Linked DNA regions of Homo sapiens: region 1 is linked to region 2. The links are contacts of gene promoters, found by promoter capture Hi-C in human tissues and cell types (Jung and others, 2019). All regions are on one chromosome and are shown on one strand. Each heading gives the region's core, a stretch centred on a gene start or on the middle of the fragment in contact. The rest is flanking DNA. Distances are from core to core; before and after follow the strand shown. Region 1 holds the start of WRAP73 (WD repeat containing, antisense to TP73). Region 2 holds the start of MORN1 (MORN repeat containing 1).

What was found. Contacts are between HindIII fragments. The study calls those that stand out against the background at their distance.
Region 1: the fragment with the promoter of WRAP73 here is called in contact with the fragment with the promoter of MORN1 in region 2 in 1 of the 25 tissues and cell types used here (lymphoblastoid cells).

The regions. Positions count from the first base shown.
Region 1 is chr1:3,648,687-3,651,386 of GRCh38, reverse strand. WRAP73 (WD repeat containing, antisense to TP73) reads left to right here and starts at 1,284. Exons shown (of 12, transcript NM_017818.4): 1 at 1,284-1,456. The coding sequence starts at 1,388. RefSeq lists an enhancer at 220-1,063. The HindIII fragment of the contact is 14,524 bases long and covers 1-2,700 here.
Region 2 is chr1:2,390,115-2,392,814 of GRCh38, reverse strand. It overlaps MORN1 (MORN repeat containing 1), which reads left to right and starts at 1,261. Exons shown (of 14, transcript NM_024848.3): 1 at 1,261-1,357. The coding sequence starts at 1,282. RER1 (retention in endoplasmic reticulum sorting receptor 1) reads right to left here and starts at 974. Exons shown (of 7, transcript NM_007033.5): 1 at 857-974. RefSeq lists silencers at 689-988, 1,089-1,198, 1,329-1,398, 1,559-1,688 and enhancers at 230-1,102, 971-1,265. The HindIII fragment of the contact is 12,081 bases long and covers 1-2,700 here.

The DNA of each region.
Region 1 (2,700 bases), core at 35-2,534, 1.3 Mb before region 2:
AAGTCGCGTCAGTGAAGCCCGTGGCTTCGCGAGCGAGCCGGGCTGGCGCAGACTGGGTTCTCTGGCCGCAGCGGGTCCGCGCCTGACGGGGAGGGTCCGGCTGACTCGCACATCTTCATGGCTCACCCACTGTTTGCTGGGCGCACGGGGTGGGGACCCAAAGACGAATCCCATGCAGAGGTTTGGGTCTAGTTTTGGCAACAGAAAAGGCCGGCACCGCCGGAGTAGGACGCGCGCGCACCACCATCCATTCGGCCGGGGAGGTTGGGGCGTCCGCGGGGAGCAGACCCGAGGCTGGGCGCCCGGAGGTACGAGCAGGACCCTGGCCGGCTCTCAGCTCCCAGAACCCAGGGCCAGGCGGGGATGTCAGGGTCTGCGCGATCTGGGGGGCCCTAGAGGCGCCGGCGGGGCCTGGCGCGGACTACTAGCGGCCTGCGGGAGCCAGGGGTGGAGGGGGCCGCTGTCTAGGGAAGAGGACCGGGGTCCGGAGTGGGGGTGAGAACGAGGCACGCCCCTGAGCCTGCGAAACCTGCGGACCGAGCGCCCGCGCAGGAGCTCGCTCCCTCTGGGCCCCCAGGTCCCAGACCCGCACGATTCTTCGCCCGGTGCCAGCCCAGATGCGCGCGGGTGATGAACGGGCGGTGGCCGCGATCCACGCGCTCGCTCTGCCCAGTCAGCGGCAAATTCGTTCTCTCCTTGATCTCAGTGGCACTGGAGCGTGAGGCAAGGGCCAGGCGGCAGGTAGAGGGGTCGGACTCAGCAAAAGCAAACAAAACCCCAAGCAAACGAAATAAATACTTATACATTACATACACGATATAATATATGTGCGACAGACACCGTATTACTTATTAAAGATATATTTGTAGGTAAACATATATTTACATGTAAACATACATTTACATATAAATATAAATATATATATATGCATGTGTACACACACGCAGACACACAGGTCGCTCAATTAAATTTGAATTTCAGACTAGCGAGTAATTTTTCCGTATTAGCATGTCCCGTGCAATATTTGGGAACATACTTATAACTAGATTTGTTGTGAATCTGAAATTCAAATTTTACTGTGCTTTCTACATTTTTATCAGCAGCCCTAGCTGGAGGTGCTCAAAGGCCTCCCGGCCTTTGAGGTAAGGTTCTCGGGTCGGAAATCCCTGGTCGGAAGAAACGTGGGCGTTTCCTTTAAAGCCCTGCGGCACAAGAACTACAAGCCCCACAATGCCGCGCGGAAGCCGGCGGCGCTGATAGGCTGCAGTTCACTTCCGCCTTCTGACTTCCGGCCTCGGAGGCCGGCGTCGGCTGTTGCAGCCTGCTGCGCGCCCAGGGGTCCCGCGGGTTTTCGGGCGCAGGGTGGCGCCCGCGGCAGGCGGCGGCCATGAACTTCTCCGAGGTATTCAAGCTCTCCAGCTTACTCTGCAAGTTCTCCCCGGACGGCAAGTACCTGGTGAGCGGCGGGGACCTGGGCCACGGGCAGGACATCCTCGGTGCCAGCGTCCCCGGCGGGCAGGGCCGGGGGCGGCCGCGTGGGTGGAGGCAGCTTGGGGATCCTGCAGGTGCGGTGCCCGGACAGGTGCGGGGCCCGGGCAGGTACCCGGGGCAGGTGCAGTGTCTGAGCAAGTGCCCCAGACAGGTGCGGGACCCAGGAAGATACCCTAGACAGGTGGAGGGCCCGGGGAGGTGCCCCAAGCAGGTGCGGGGCCCAGGCAGGTACCCCAAGCAGGTGCGGGGCCCAGGCAGGTACCCCAAGCAGATATGGGGGCCGGACAGGTGCAGGACCCCGGCAGGTGCCCGGGCAGGTGCGGGACCCAGGAAGATACCGTAGACAGGTGGGGGGTCTGGGGAGGTGCCCTTGGAAAGGTGGGTATCGGCAGTGCCGACTGCACACAGGTGAGGGTATAGGAGATGTCGGCTCTTTGTTGTTACTTTGTCACAAAAGGCAAATTGATGATTCTGTTGCCTGTAAACTGGTAAGTGGTGTGGCTACTTTGTCATCTCTACTTCTCCTCTAATTCTCTTCTCCTCTACCACATGCCGAATAAATGATTTAAATACTAGTATTCTATCCCCAGGTAAGGAAGTAGTTGTCCTCATGGCTGGGATTTGAGGTCTTCGTTCCATGGGTGGCAGAAGGGTGCTTAAATCACAGAGCTATAACTTTAAGCTTCAAAACATATAGTGTATGTACCTGGATGCCTAGTAGTGTATATCCTCAGAAGAGAGGGATAACCCGGATGCCTAGTATGTATGTCCTCAGAAGAGGGGGACAATTGGCATTGGAAAGCCACTAAGAAGAAACATGCCTCGTAAAAAGTGGGCTTCGTTTTCCTTATCCACCACCTGTACTAACTGACTGATGTATCATGATGCTTTTTCAGGTTTTGCCACTCCTGACATTCCTGTGCTCTGTCTAGCTTTTGAGAGTTTAACTCTCAAATTACGTTTTTTACCTCTTCAGGGAGGTTTTATTCCAAATCACATAAAATAGCATCAGCTACAAAACAGAAAACCTCATTAGTTTAAATGGCATCTCAGCCTTGGTATATTTTCAATGTGCCCCCCTCCTCAATTAAATGAGAGGTTTGTTTTTTGTTTTTACCATTTATGAAAATTTCAGTGAATTATAAGGAGAAAGATTACATCTGCTTGCTTAACTTGGGTGTTTTTTTCCAGCTTGTACACTCTGGTCAA
Region 2 (2,700 bases), core at 12-2,511:
CCTGGCTCTGACACACTGTTACCGCCGTCGCCGTCACCTCAGGCATACGGCAGAAGCCATGTGAGAGTCTGAATTACTGAGAACCCTTTATCCACTTACGGGGATAACTGCATCTTCCTGGGAAATGTCAACTCAACTAAAAATAAAGTGCTTCCAGGACTAGCGGCCAGTCTCTACTCTTCATAAAGGGAAAAGGGCAAAAGCCCACTGAAGGTACTTAGGCTGAAAGCAGCCCTCTGTGCTGTGAGACACCTGGCAGAGAAACGAACGATACCTTTATCAGTGGGGCCACAGACCAGTACTAAGTCAGCCTGGAGAATTTATGATTTTATTGCCTATTTAGAATACGATCAAAACCGATGTAACTAGTTTCCCTTCAGCCCGTCAGTAACGCCTTCACCCCAGAGCTTAACACTAAATCCTACAGATAAGCGCTGACCTGGACGCAGGATGGGGACAGGGCACATTACTCTGGAATACAGCCCAACTCGCAGCGCTGTGGGGGCCGCGACTGCCCGCTTCCCCCAGATGCCAAGCAGGGGATGCGGACGAGATGCGGCCCGGGTGGCTCGAGGGCTGCAGCCCCCGCCCGGCCCCTCTCCCGCTCCCCCGACCCTCGCAGGCCCCAGGGCTCCGCCGCACCCCCCAGCACCCCGTCCCGGGCCCGACCCCGAGGCGCGACCCGTACCCCTCAGGGCCGCGGGTCGGGAACACGGTCCCCGCGGCCACCCGGGCCCCGACGGCCCTCCCCGCCCGGCCCTCAGCGCGGCCCCGCCCGCCCGCGGCCTTGACAGCCCGGAAGAAGCGGAGGCGGCGCTGCCCGGCCGTTCCCGCGCCACGCAGCCCTTCCTGGCACCTCGCAGCTCCGCTACGGCCGAGCCGCGGTCTCCCTCACGGCCGCGGGAAGGAGGACGGCGGGGCACGGGCGGCCGCAGGCGCTGCGCTCCGGCTCCGGGAAGCTGCAGCGAGCACTTCCGCTCCGTCCTCCGCGGCGCCGCCTCCAGGGCCCCCAAGATGGCGCGAGGGCGGGGCCAAGGGCTCCAACCATTTCCGCTTCCGGCGCAGACGCGCAGGCCGTTGGCGGGCGGGCCTCCCGGCGGAAGAGACGACAGCGGCGGAAACGCGCACAGGCGCAGCTGCGTCCTCTGGCTCCGGGCCCGGCTAGCTTCGCTCCAGAGATTGCGCGGGCTCAGGGACTAGGCCCGTGGCCACACCCCCCCTTGCGACAAAGACCAATGGAAGCGGGCGTTGCTGGTCGCTAAGAGAACCCTCGGCGGCAAGATGGCAGCGGCGGGCGAGGGCACCCCGAGCTCCCGCGGGCCGCGTCGGGACCCGCCTAGGCGGCCGCCCCGGAACGGTAACGACTGCGGGCCACGGGACAGGTCGCTGGCTGCCCTGGGCTCCATTCAGGGTGCGATCGCTCTACGCCCTCGACCCCCAAATGCTCACCTCGGAAAGTAGAGGTCCAGGTGCCGCGGCGGAGCCAGGGCCGCCCCCGCGTCCCCCACTCCCACAGGACTCGCCGTGCGCCTCGGGCTCGGCTCGCACCCTTCCCCGAGCCCTCCTCCCGCAGCAGGCCAAGCCCTGCAGGGGGTCGCCCCCCGCGGGCTCCTAGCCGGGAAGACCGGGTTCCGGCCGCAGCCTCACAGCCAGCGGGACCTGGGGTTGCCATGGGGATCCCGAAGCCCAGGACTTGGGGCGAGGGCAGGCGCAGGAGCAGCACCAAGCCTCCTGACTTCCTGGCCGGTGCTGTCCAGAAACGCTAGGACGCGTTTCAAAAGCAGTTTTTGCCTGTACTTCCAGCACTTTGGGAGGCCGAGGCGGGTGGATCACCTGAGGTCAGGAGTTCGAGACCAGTGTGGCCAACATGGCGAAACCCGGTCTCTACTAAAAAATACAAAAATTGGCCCGGGGTGGTGCCTCCTGTAGTTCCAGCTACTCGGGAGGCTGAGGCAGGAGAATCGCTTGAACCCAGGAAGCGGAGGTTGCAGAGAGCCGAGATCGCGCCGCTGCACCCCAGCCTGGGCGACAGAGCAAGACTCAGTCTCAAAAAAAAAAAAAAGAGCAGGTTTTGATAGGAACTGTTTCTAGAATCAAATAAACGGGTCTGGAATGAACTCAGAGCTAACACTACTATCTTCAGGTAGAACCTGACCCTGATTTGGGACAGATACAGTAGCCTGTAGTAACCCCCTGCCCTCCTCCCCGACATTTTCCCATAAACCCTGCCCACAAAATGTGCCTGAGGAGCTGGTAGGGAGGGAGCCCTGCCCATTCCTGGAACTGCAGGAGTTGGCGGGTGGCACACCCAGCAACTAGGAGGAGATGAAGCCGGCCAGGCCATCCTTGGGTATGAGTGTGGATTTTCTCCCCAGCGATAGGAGGCCACTGAAGGGCCACGGCAGGGGATGGGAGAGTCTGCTCCTCCCCTGTGTGCCTCACTGACACTGCCGCTCTGCCTTCCCCTGGCTCACTCATCTCCTGCAACAAGGCTCCCAACCTGCTCCTCACCACCTCCCGAGCACCTCTGGTCTCTCAAGGACCTGCAGTTGTTTCAAGCCAGCCCTCCTCTTACTGGGCCTGTCTTCTCTGCACCAAGTAGGTCCTCATCCTTGTCACATAAACAAATGAGCAAATGAATGGCCCAACAGTCGACAGGAGAGCTCATGAGCCCCACAGGTCGCCTCTGGTCTGCTGAAG